Regions from separate parts of the Homo sapiens genome. Here region 1 is linked to region 2. The links are contacts of gene promoters, found by promoter capture Hi-C in human tissues and cell types (Jung and others, 2019). All regions are on one chromosome and are shown on one strand. Each heading gives the region's core, a stretch centred on a gene start or on the middle of the fragment in contact. The rest is flanking DNA. Distances are from core to core; before and after follow the strand shown.

Evidence for each region. The method cuts DNA at HindIII sites, captures the fragments that hold promoters and counts their contacts. A contact is called where the count stands out against the background at its distance.
Region 1: a fragment that was not itself captured here is called in contact with the fragment with the promoter of TCP10L in region 2 in 1 of the 25 tissues and cell types used here (aorta).

What each region holds. Positions count from the first base shown.
Region 1 is chr21:32,546,505-32,553,174 of GRCh38, reverse strand. No RefSeq gene overlaps it. Among named protein-coding and RNA genes, the nearest start is that of TCP10L, 36 kb to the left of the region's middle. The HindIII fragment of the contact is 4,421 bases long and covers 2,281-6,670 here.
Region 2 is chr21:32,581,474-32,588,296 of GRCh38, reverse strand. TCP10L (t-complex 10 like) reads left to right here and starts at 2,774. Exons shown (of 5, transcript NM_144659.7): 1 at 2,774-2,876; 2 at 3,992-4,136; 3 at 5,882-6,097. The coding sequence starts at 3,993. It overlaps CFAP298-TCP10L (CFAP298-TCP10L readthrough), which reads left to right. Exons shown (of 12, transcript NR_146639.2): 6 at 5,882-6,097. RefSeq lists a silencer at 2,736-2,935 and an enhancer at 4,017-4,517. The HindIII fragment of the contact is 17,408 bases long and covers 1-4,467 here.

The DNA of each region.
Region 1 (6,670 bases), core at 3,242-5,741, 37 kb after region 2:
CAGTCTATAACAAGGAATAACCAAACGAGTTGGAAATCGAGGCTACTGGTGTGTAGGGGCAGAGAACAGACTGAGTTTTGAGTCCTCAATTCACCACGGGGACCCTTTAACCTTGAATGGGTTATTTAACACTCCCCCCAGCTTCTCAAGCTTACATCCTGAATACCAATTCTTGCCTCAAACACTTATTGTGAGGATTATGTAAGTGTGTGAATGTGTGTGTCCAAACCTCCAGGTGTGTGCTGGCCATGGTGTACGTATGCAGTGAGTGCTTTTGACTGATGACCACGACACCAGCTTTCCAGACCATATAAGCCTCTGGGATCTGGGGATGCAGGAGTTTCTTAGCTGTTAGGAACAGAATGGAAAGGCACAGTCCTTCTTTGAGTCAGCAGACCTGGGTTTGGGAATTGCCTCTGTAGTTTACCACAGGAGTTATAGAATAGTTCAGGGTCTTATGTCTTCATCTGTGAAATAAAGCACTTGGATTCTCTATATAATCTTAAACTTTTTTTTCTAAGTTGTGTGGTTCTAAGATCTGTAAGCTGTTAACCCCTTGGATGGCAGGAGTTTTTCTTTCTAATCTTTCTACTTCCCACTGCCTTTTGCACATAGTAGGTGTGGTAAATACTAAATGAATGACCGATGAGATGGCTCTGGTAATTTAATGCTGCTCTTCTCAAAAGAGGAAGAAAACCTCACTCAGAACCGAGGGATGCAAAACCTTAATTCTCTGAGTGATGAACTATCTGAGTCATGCTGTTTCAAAGATTCAGGCTTGTGGCCTAAACTAATAACAAATTCTTTCCATTAAGAAATTGTTTCCTCTGGCCAGGCACGGTGGCTCACACCTGTAATCCCAGCACTTTGGGAGGCCGAAGCAGGCGGATCACAAGGTCAGGAGTTCGAGACCAGCCTGACCAACATGGTGAAACCCAGTCTCTACTAAAAATACAAAATTAGCTGGATGTGGTGGCGGGCGCCTGTAATCCCAGCTACTCAGGAGGCTGAGGCAGGAGAACTGCTTGAACCCAGGAGGCGGAGATTGCAGTGAGCCGAGATTACGCCACTGCACTCCAGCCTGGGCGACAGAGCGAGACTCCGTCTCAAAAAAAAGAAAAAGAAAAAAGAAATTGCTCTCTCTGGTGAGCCTGACTTTTGAAGCAGACAATGCAGATGCTGGCAGAGCGATCGGCTGCAATGATTGCAGCCAGGTTGAGCCATTCAAACAAAAGCCCGGGACACCCCAGTGATACTAAAAGCTAAGACCTGCAGCCCGGTGAGAGGCTGGAGAAGAGCATAGCTAGACGTTTCCTTGGTGCACGCCTGAGTCTCTCTAATTTAAGGTGTGGAAACCAAATTTGCTACATGATGATTTTTGAGTAACTCTTCACCTGTAAGCACCTAGCTGAAGCATGAGGGTTCCTACACGAGGGGAATCTCACTGTTGAGACCAGTCTCTATGCCCAAGTGGTAATTCACAATCCAACAGATACACAGAATGTGGCTCTGTATCTCCCTGGCACATAAGAATGAGTTGGATGTGACGGAGCCTGAGACCCTTGCTTTTTTTAACCTGCTTTTGGAAAATGTGTCAGTCAGGCTCCGGTGGGAGAGTAGAATCTGGAGAGAGTTGATTGGGGGTCGTTTAGGTGGAGAGGAGACTATGGGAAAGGTGGAAAGAGAGGAGGGAGAAAAAGCACCTTTGTGGCATCCTCTCCTGGCCTTCTTTCTCGATGACATTCTTCCTGTCTTTTCTCCTCTAGAGTGATTTTTCAAGGCTGCTTGTATCTGGCTGTCCAGGTTTTTTCTTCTCTTTTGGAATGGGAGGGAGGAAAGAGGCTTTTCTCTTCCCCATCCGAAGCCTAGTGACTCCTTTTCTCCTGGTGCAGTGGCAGGGCTCTCAGCCCATCACGGAGCCTGGGCTTTGCCAGGGACCCTTTGGGATTTAGTAAGTTTCTATCACATGAATGTACAGACGCCACAGAACCAGAAGAGTTACGGGTCTCTGGTTGGTTGTTTTTATTTTCTTGTTTTTCATATCACTGGGGAAAAGTGCACCTTCAAGTTTTCATCCAAAGCCAAGAATTGTTGCTATTGACTTTTATCCACTTCCTAAGCACTGCATTTCTTTCAGGCTTCATCCAGGGCAAAATCCTTCATTCAGAATCTTTTTCATCGCTTTAAATAGTCCTCTCACCTTTGTTGAAGTTTTCTGCCTTTAGAGAGACGAGGTCAAATCTGCTCCAACAGTGGAAATAAAATAGGGGAGGAGGACTAGCTGTAACCTTTGTGCTTAAAACTTGAAGATGGTATACAATTTTTTTTTTCAAAAAGAGATCTACTGTTTGACTATTCTGATCTCTTAAGATGCATCTGAAAAAATACTATATTTTGAACAGAAAATGTTAAGAAAATGTCTGTGCTAACATATATATTTCAACAAGTTTTTAGAGAGAAAAAATGATCTCCAAATTGAGAGACTCAGCCTGGTTCTATGATATCTGTGTAGCAGCAGGGTATAACAAAGCTAAAAATTTAAGGCAATTTTGACACCTTAAAGCAGAATGGCACAGGCTTTTAAACCCACAGAGGATTCAGCCTGCTCACTCATTACTTTCCACATCTTCAAAAGGACAATGTCTCTTTTTTAACCTTTTGACTTTGCTGTGAAACCATGGGAAGTTATTGACTTTACAGGCACTTCAAGTATACAATCAGGCAGAAAAAGGGCATTGGTGCACTCAGGGGCTGCGAGTTCAAATTCTCGTCTCTTTGTGGCATTCTCCTCCCCACTCAGACAGAATTGAAAAGGGCAGGACAAACAGAGAGGGGCTGCCATGGGTTTTGATGGGGGCCCTTGCATTGAGTCACGGGCACCTGAAGCCATTTGGCTAAAGAGAGGCTCCTTTCTCGTTTCTGTTGTTATTTTTTAATCTGACAGCTCCCAGGGTTCCCTCGGATGGTGTGCTCAGAAATGCCATACTTCCTTGTAGCCCCTGCAAGCTAAAATAATGAACAAGCAATTAAATCTCATGCTTCAGGGCCTGTGTTGATTGCTTGCAGGAGAGGGGCAGAGCCCTGCCTTGTTCATTGCATATGGGGCACAGGGCCTGGCTGTTTCCCTTGCAGGAGAAGCACCTGCTACCAGGCTGTGTCAGGGGTGGGCTGCAGGGGTGCTTGGGTGCTAGAGGAAAGGGACTTGATGGGAAACAAAGGTCCACCGAGTCACCTGTATTGAAAATGGGTGCTGGCTGATGTTGTCCTCCTAAGGTCTTGGCAAGACTGTTACTTATTAGCAGAGCACAAGTGGCTGTGACTCCTCTTTTTCTTCTTTATTATCCTTTGATGAATTAATGTGTACTAGGAGCATGGTTTCTTCTTTTTTATTATTATCATTAAATAGGTATTCTTGGTTTTGACTGAAAAGTGGGTTTTGTTTAGCTAGTTGCTGGGAGGCTAACTTTTGTCTTCTTGACTTTCCTATGCAAGCTACTCAATTTTGGAGAGGAAGTGTCAGGGATAACGATAAGATAACTTCCCCAAAGTCACAAAACCAGTATGTGGCAGAGCCAGAAATGGATCTGAGTAGTTTGGGGAATGAGGAGTTTTAACTATGTTGCTGGTGCACCTCAATATTAATTAATTTAAAAAGTAATTAATAAATCACTTTTTAATAAATATATATGTATTGAAATTCTACTGGGGCTTTGCCACTGGGAATTCATGGATAAGCAATATATAGCTATGTCCTGCAGTACTGGATTATGTATTCTAGCACGGGAGACTGCCATTGATGAAAAGGCCCACGTTATCTTACAACAGCAAATGTACTAAATACCCTGAAAGAAAATCAAGTGGTGAGGTAGGAATGCCTAAAAGATGGTCTCAACTGGTATAAGGGGTCGTAGACTACCATCCTGAAGATGTGAACTTGAACTGAGGCCCGAAGGATGGCTAAAGGGGAAGGAAGTGAGGTAATACAGGGGCAGGAAAGCCATGGGAGGTGAGGCTGGCCGGGAGCCAGGGTCAGGTCCTGTGGGGTCGTGTACATCTCCTTAAGGATTTTAAAACAAAAACAGGCTCACGCCTATAATCTCAGCACTGTGGGAGACCGAGGCAGGTGGATCACCTGAGGTCAGGAGTTCAAGACCAGCCTGGCCAACATGGTGAAACCTCGTCTTTACTAAAAATACAAAGAAATTAGCTGGACGTGGGGATGCGCGCCTGTAATCCCAGCTACCCAGGAGGCTGAGGCAGGAGACTCTCTTGAACCCAGGAGGCAGAGGTTGAAGTGAGCCAAGATCGTGCCATTGCACTCTAGCCTGGCAACAAGAGCGAAACTCCATCCCCCCAATCGAAAAACAAAAACAAAAACAAAAACAGATGCATGGGACTTAAACTAAAAAGCTTCTACACAGCAAAAGAAATAATCAACAGAGTGAAGAGACAACCTGCAAAATGGGAGAAAATATTTGCAAACCATGCATATGATAAGGGGATAATATCCAAAAATATATAGGGAAATGAAACAACTCAATACTAAGAAAACAAATGTTAGAATGGCTATTATTAAAAAGACAAAAACTAACAGATGTTGGTGAGGATATGGAGAAAGTGAACTCTTAAACAGTGCTGGTGGGCATGTAAATTAGTACAACCTCTGTGCAAAACAGTATGGAGATTTCTCAAAGAGCCAAAAATAGATATACCATTTGATTCAGCCACTCCACTACTGGGCATCTACCCATAGGAAAAGAAATCAATATATCAAAAAGATACCTGTACTTTTATGTTTATTGCAGCACCATTCACAATAGCAAAGATATGGAATCAACCTAAATATCCTAAATTGAATGAAGAAAATGTGGCATATAAACACAATGAAATACTATTTAGCCATAAAAAGGAATGAAATCATGTCTTTTGCAGCAACATGGATGGAACTGAAGGCCATTACCTTGAGCAAATCAACCCAGATACAGAAAGACAAATATTGCATATTTCCCACTTGTAAGTGGAAGTGAAAAAATGTGTACAAATGGCCATAGAGATTGGAATAATAGACAATGGAGATTTGGAAGGATGAGGGAGCGGGAGGGGGTGGAGGATGAGAAACTACTTAATGGGTGCAATATACATTATTTGGATAATGAATATGTAAAAACCCCGACTTAACCATTATGCAATCTATGCATGTAACGAAATTGTTCTTGAACCCCATATATTTATATAAATTTAAAAAAAAGATTTTATTTTTGACCCAAAGAGCAATGCAGAGCTGTGAGAGGACAGAAGTAGGGAAATGACACCACAACATCTGTGCATTGAGAAGGGCGCTCTGCTGGGGCACGGCAGTGAGTACGATGGGATGGTTTAGGAAATAGGTGGGTTGTACCTCAGACCGGGGTGGTCCAATGAAGACGTAGTTCTGAAGGCATATTTCTGAGCTCTTTAGGAGGGAGAATGGACAGGGCTTGTGATGGCTGGGGTTGGGGAGCAGGTGAGGGGTCTGGGATGACTCTTTGGGTGTCTGGCTCGCACAGCTGGATGAGTGGCAGTGCCACTAGCTGAGAATAAGAACATGGGAAGCCCGCTAGATTTAGGAGAGGACTCAAACTTCATTTAGACCTGTTGAGTGGGAGATACCCCCCAAAAGAAGGTATGGTGTGAATAGTTGCCTATAAAGGTCTGATATTCAAATGAAAGATTGGAGGCATCTGAAAATGGAAGCTGCCAGTGTGGATGAACCATCTTAAAGAGAGGCTACTAAATAAGAATGAAGACTAGGACTGAGATGCCAGGACTCCGGTGTGTGTGGGCCATGGTGCAGAGATGTAGGAGTGCCCAGAGCAGCAGGAAACTTGGAGGGTGGGGCACCTCAGGGTGGGAGAGGCTGCTTCAGAAAGGAGGGCCGGCCGGGGGTGGGGTGGGGGAGGAGGGTGCCATGGAGCCCACCAAGGTGATGATTCACTCAAGGATGGGTGTGGACTCACCCTTGAAAACACTGTAAGGCAGAGATTATTATTATCTTCCTTGAATAGATCAAGGGACTGAAGCTCAAAGAACTTAAATAATTGGCTTCAAATCACACAATAAATAGGTTGTGGAGCAGAATTTGAAGCTGGTTCTCTAGGTCCAGATCCCCTGCGCCAGCCCTGTCTCTCTGTAGCTTTATTTCTTTCACGTTGAAGCATTTTTTTTTTCTAGAAAAGGAACAACATAATGGTATTTTGGTTTGTTAAGTAATCATGATGGGAAAAAGAATGACAACTGACATTTAATGTGAGGCTTATAAAATGATTAAAGGGTTTGAATACTGTATGATAAATAGGCTTTTAAAATCCACGTATCTGACCTCTTATTAGGCTGCTTATTTCTACACTGACAGTGCAGCTCAAACAATTGCTGAAGAACTGCATATATCTTCTGCCTCAATTACTTTCTTTCAGAGACAATTTAGTAACGATGACTTTTCTGAAGTTAGCCAATGTAATTCAAAACCAGATAGGTAAAAGAGAGGCCAGTCATGAAGGATGTGAACGAATATCACGTTGAGGACTAAGAGAATTAAAATGAACTGAGGATTTCTGTTTTTCCTGTCTTTATGATGATCAGAAACTGAGGCAAAAGGATTAAGTATATGTCTGTTGATTTCAAAACACAATGC
Region 2 (6,823 bases), core at 1,525-4,024:
TGCAGTGGTGCCATCTTGGCTCACTGCAGCCTCCACCTCCCAGGTTCAACCAATTCTCCTGCCTCAGCCTCCCAAGTAGCTGGGACTACAGACGCGTGCCACCACACCCAGCTAATTTTTTTTATTTTTTTATTTTTAGCAGAGACAGGGTTTCACCATGTTGGCCAGGATGGTCTTGATCTCTTGACCTTGTGATCTGCCCACCTCAGCCTCCCAAAGTGCTGGGATTACAGGCGTGAGCCACCATGCCCGGCCGAAAATCTTTATCTTTTGGTTCTATCATTGTACACTACAGCTACTGGTAATAGTATTAAGGCATATTTTACAATTCATATTTGGATTCGATCACAGGGCTCACACTCTCTTATCTTCACCTCTCACAAGTTTTGCCATAAGAATTTTGTGGTAGTTTGAGGAACTCAACACAGCTGCAAGTATTTCGCTGGAATCTACTATGATCTGTGTCACTTGAGGCACAGAGTGAGCTCATGTCATTCTTTGGATGACATGCACCCCTCCCTAACTTATTCCGACATTTAGTCATCCAAGAATTCACTCAGCTCTGGTGGGGTGGGCTCCAATCTCAATGGCATCTCACCAGTTCCCAGGTCATATTGCCCATTTGCAGTGATGATATTTAGAAAAGGTGATTTCTTTTGTCAGGGTCTGTACCACTATAGAAGTAGTCCTTTGAACCAGAAATTTAAACACATAAGCTACTTTAAAAAGTGTATCTGCTGCTACTCCAAGCAGCCAGCTCAGGAACTGGCTTCTGATTTTAAAAGATGAGTGAAAGGTGTGCCGTGGTTTCCTCTACAGAATGTTCAGACCAGAGGGCCCTGGAAGACCATGCCTGAAATGCGGCTAAGGCACCGCGAGGCTGAACAGAAAACCGGGGCCTTATCAGAGAGAAGAGAAGGGCCCCACAGTCCAAACGCCCAGGAGCCTCCGCCCTGACCTGCTGCCGCACGTGGTTGCTGCAGGGTGAGAATCTGGGGAAGACTCAATGAAGAAAATGTCCTGGCCAGGCCGGGAAGAGCAACACACAGAGAGCCGCAGCAGAGACAGGGATGGGGGGACCCTGCCCTGGGAGCCGCCCGGCTGAGGCTCAGGAGGGGAGCTGCAAAGCCTGAAACCTACACAACCTCTCACACACTTCAGGACACACACAACCCCTCACGCACCTCAGGGACTCACACAACCTCTCACACACCTCAGGAAGCTACACAAACTCTCACACACCTCAGAAACCTACACAAACTCTCACACACCCCAGGGACTCACACAACCTCTCACACACCTCAGGACACACACAACCCCTCACATACCTCAGGAACCTACGCAAACTCTCACACACCTCAGGACACACACACAACCTCTCACACACCTCAGGACAAACACCCACTCACACACCCCAGGACCCAAGCACAACCCCTCACACACCTCAGGACACACACACAACCCCTCACACACCTCAGGAACCCATATAAGGAACCCACACACCTCAGGCTCATACACACAAGCCCTCACACACCTCAGGAATCCACACACAACCCCTCACACACCTCAGGGTCTCACACACAATGTTGACACACCTCAGGGTCTCATACACAAACCCTCACACACCTCAGGACCCACACAATTCATCACACTTCTCAGGACACACATAAAACCCCTCACACACCTCAGGGGCCCATACATAACCCCTCACACACCTCAGGACTCACACACAATCCTCTCACACACCTCAGGACTCACACAACCTCTCACACACCTTAGGACCCACACACAACCACTCACACACCTTAGGACCCACACACAACCTCTCACACACCTTAGGACCCACACACAACCACTCACACACCTTAGGACCCACACACAACCTCTCACACACCTCAGGGACCCACACACAACCACTCACACACCTCAGGACCCACACACACCTCATACACCTCAGGGACACACACAACCCCTCACATACCTCAGAAACCTATATAAACTCTCACACACTTCAGGACAAACATACAACCTCTCACGCACCTCAGGACACACACACACACACTCGCACACCTCAGGACACACACACACACTCTCACAGTTAGAATGACACATGGGGACAAAAGTGCCTTCTGTTTCCTCTTTGTAGTATTCTCTTCATTCATTCATGACGTCGGCATTTACTGCCTATTGCATGCGAATCGCTTGCAGAACTATCCAAGTGACACACGTCCCAAGCAGGCTCAGGTGAGCCCCAGGTGTATGTTGTCCACACGCAGCACCATGGATGAGAAGGACAGCCAGGGTTTAACAGGAATATCGACTCTTGCTTGCTCCTCATTCTCTTCTCTATCACAAAAATCACACGGACAATTCAGATGGAGATGCATTTAGTGAAATGATGAAACTTTGAATCCTGTCTCCTATTTAAACTCACATATATTATTTTCCCTTCATAAAAATGTTTTTTCTAGTAAATAATTTGATATCCGAAGAAAGTTTGTATTTCTCCAAGAATGTATGCTCAGAGAAATGAGCTCTTACTACACGTTGCGTATTGAAGACTGGATATAAAACACATGGTTTTTGTCAATTTGGAGGAGTAGTTTGACTCTCTCCAATGTCCTTTGTGGATGGATGGACTCCACTGACGATGAGCTTCTATATTAAGAATTGCAGGTTTGGGGATGTTTAATTATTATCTGAGCTGGTACAGTGGTGACGCTGAGTGAGACGTTCATGTCCCTTTAAGACAGAAAGTCCGTTGGAACTGTCCGCTGCTCTCTGGTCTCTGGATATGAGGCAGGAGGGCTTGGGGACAACTGTGGGGACATGGCCCAGATGATCTGATCCTGGCAGTAGTGACTGTTGGGGACCAGGTGAGGTGACGAGGTCTGGTGGTGGGGCTGAAGGAAAGGGTCTTCCCTGGACTGAGGGGGTCATGAGTTTGGGGCCGAGGACACTGGGGTGTCCCCTCAGAGGAGCAGGAAAGAAGGAGCTTTCTCAGGGCTGTGAGGACCGTGACCCCAGCCCACTTCCGCAGAAACATTCCCAGTCTCCGCGGGGAAGGAATGGCAGTGATCTGGTTACTGGTAGGTCTTGCTCTAGACCTTCGATTCGCTTCCATCAGGAGACTCTCTTTTAAATAGCATTTCTCCGATCACTGTGGTTAAACTGTTCCTTCTCACACAGTTAGAAGTTTATGAATTAAACAGTCGGGGTTTCGTTGGGGGCCACTGGCTTCCTAAAACGGACAGGGCAAGGCAGGGGTGGAGGCAGCTTTCAGAGACGACCCTGCAGGCTTGCAGGAAAGCTTTGCGTTTTTCTCTTTCGTTTTTGTTCTCTAATTGCTGTGAACTTCCTAGAACTGGCATAAATGCTGTACCTATAAAAAGGTGTTTCCTTTCCACATCTTCACCATGAATTCACAAATGTCACCCTGATGGTTCAAGACACATACTCAACACGGTGGAGGGTCTGCCTGTGCCCCTCCAGGTGGGTGCTGATTAAAGGGCTGAGAATTCCCTCGGTGTCTCATGCGACCCTCCACTCACACCTGCTCACACCCTGAGACCATTCCACTCACACCTGCTCATACCCCAAGACCATCGTGCTCACATCCGCTCACATCCATTCACATTCCGCTCATATCCTGCTCACAACCCACTCACATCCCACTCACACCGGCTCACACCCCACTCACACCCCTCTTTGGATGACTGGAGTGTGTTAGGTGTCAGGCTGATCTTCTAGGATCTAAAGCATTTTCCACGGAGGATGGTGGAGAGCCAGGTGTGGACAGCTCAGTCCCTCTGTCTGTGGTGTCCTTTCACCTGGTCAGCTTCGGGCCTGGGAATGTGCACATGACCCAGGGGGAGAAGGAGCGGCTGCGGGTCCTGCTCACCCTTAGTTTGGGGCTGGGGCCTTCAGCCCACACTGACGGGGTAGGAGGGCTGCATTCAAGTGTCCCCATAGCCCTTCCCTTCCCAACCAGGATGCTGGCAGGTCAACTCGAGGCCAGGGACCCCAAAGAGGGCACCCACCCAGAGGACCCGTGCCCAGGAGCTGGGGCTGTCATGGAGAAGACAGCTGTGGCAGCCGAGGTTCTCACGGAGGACTGCAACACTGGGGAGATGCCAGTGAGTTGAGCTCTGTGGGGACAGAGTTAGTCCCACCAGGCGGGACCCTGATTCCTGTCCCTGAGGCCCGTCATTGGACTTTCCCTTGCTGGACCCCTGTAGGAATGCACCACCCCGGGACACTGATTCTGTACTTCCTCTCCAAGGGGCATGTGGCTCTTTCCCCCTCTGCAACCGTATCTCTTGGTGGATGGGAGGCAGGGCAGGGAGTTAAAGAAAATATTAACATTCCAGCTTTTCTCCTCTAATCCAGGAGAAGGCACCAGACTTTAAAAACTTCATTAAAGAAAATCAGAAAGTTGACATGCCTCACATCATCCCAGCAAGTTTCCTGATTTTTACCATCTTCCTCATTGGACCCTGTTGGACAGTGCTTGCTGTCATTAAAGTCCCACGGGTCCCTGTGGCCAGGGCCACCCAGTGCAGGACTGTACCTTTATCACGATCCCACTTATTCTCAGAGCAAGGCTGGAGGCTCTACGATCCAGTGAAGGATCCCAGGGGAAGGCTAACATGTTAGGTTGAAAATGCAGTGGCTTCCATAATTTTTTTTTTTTTTTTTTTTTTTTTTTGAGACGGAGTCTCGCTCTGTCGCCCAGGCTGGAGTGCAGTGGCGGGATCTCGGCTCACTGCAAGCTCCGCCTCCCGGGTTCACGCCATTCTCCTGCCTCAGCCTCCCACGTAGCTGGGACTACAGGCGCCCGCCACTACGCCCGGCTAATTTTTTGTATTTTTAGTAGAGACGGGGTTTCACCGTGTTAGCCGGGATGGTCTCGATCTCCTGACCTCGTGATCCGCCCGCCTCGGCCTCCCAAAGTGCTGGGATTACAGGCGTGAGCCACCGCGCCCGGCCGGCTTCCATAATTTTTAAACTATTGACCATATATCCATGCCAGTACAGCCTTTGAGACCAGTCTGGCCAACATGGTAAAACCCTGTCTCTACTAACAATAGAAAAATTAGCCAGGTGTGGTGGCATGTGCCTGTAATCCCAACTACTCTGGATGCTGAGGCACCAGAGTTGCTTGAATCTGGGAAGTGGAGGTTGCAGTGAGCTGAGACTGCGCCACTGCACTCCAGCCTGGGTGACAGAGAAAGACACTGTCTCAAAAAAAAAAAAAAAAAAAAAAAAAAAAGGAAAAGAATGCCAGCCTCTTTTTGCTGTAGTAGTGTTTTAACAAAAAAATCATAATTCACTAACCATCTTTATCTGGTTATATTATGTGGACTAACTCATAATAAACACTACTTAATAAGAATAAAGCTATGGCCAGGCATGGTAGCTTATTCCTGTAATCCCAGCACTTTGGGAGGCCGAGGCAGGTGGATTGCTTGAGCCCAGGAGTTTGAGACCAGTCTGGGCAACATGGTGAACCCCCATCCCGAGTAAAAATACAAAAATTAGCGAAGTATGGTGGCACATGCCTGTAGTCCCAGCTATTTGGGAGGTCGAGACAGGAGGATCGCTTGAGCTCATCAAGTTGAAGCTTCAGTGAGCTGAGATCATGCCACTGCACTCCAGCCTGAGTGACTGAGTGAGACCCTGAAAAAAGAAAAGAAAAGAAAGAAAGAAAGGAAAGAAAGAAGAAAGAAAAAGGCTGTGGTAGTCCTGTTTATCTCATCGGGTGTCTTTTATTCCAGAAATAGTGTTGGTCTTACATCAGAGAGGGCTTGAGTATTTTGCAGATAAATGTGCCCATTGTGACATCTGAGAGGTTTTTCTGGTGTTCTCTTCCCAATAACAGCCATTACAGCAGCAGATCATCAGACTCCACCAAGAGCTTGGGAGACAGAAGTCTCTGTGGGCTGATGTTCATGGAAAACTCCGGAGTCATATAGATGCTTTGAGGGAGCAGAACATGGAGCTCCGAGAAAAGCTGAGAGCTCTGCAGCTGCAGCGGTGGAAAGCCAGGAAGAAATCTGCAGCGTCCCCACACGCGGGGCAAGAATCGCACACTCTGGTACCAAAAGCGCATTTATGTTTTTGTACCGTTTGCGTTATGTAAAAATAGCGTCCCCATAAAGATGTGGGCTTTATTGCTGAATGACGCGGTATCACTCACGCTCCGGGTGGTGGGAGGGGTTGCTATCTTTCCATCAACTCCATTTCCCGTAAGTAATGATTAATAAGAACTGGATACATCAGGCCTCTCACCTGGCACTCCAGCAGACAGAAGCATTGCCGCCCCCAGGCCGTGTGTCTCAAGTCCAGAATTCTAAGACATCTCATGATGTCTCAGGACAACAGCAGCAAACCCTTACTGTGGACTTTACATGGGCTAGGTACGGAGCTTTACGGTCTTACTCTCTATGACGACCCTATGAAATGGATCCTATTACTAACCCCATCGTGGCCACGGGCTGGAGAACGTAGAGCTGGGATTTGAACCCAGGGTGACTCCAGAGCCAGCTCAGTAGCCTGGTGTCCTTCTGTTCATCCTCTAGGACAGCTGTGTAGAATGCAATAGAGACCTGTTGAAACGGGAAAAGTTCCCTTGTCCCCCTCGCAGGGTGTGCGATGGGGGTGTGGCTCGCTTCTTTGGTTCCCCACTGCTCAAACCTCTAGGGGAGTGTACAGACCGGCAGGCTATGGGGCTCTGACCCCACGGCAGTGTCTGGGGGTGAATGTTTCCAGCTGAAGCCCCAGAGGGTGTGTGTTACAGTGCGGGAGCTCTTTCAGTTTACCC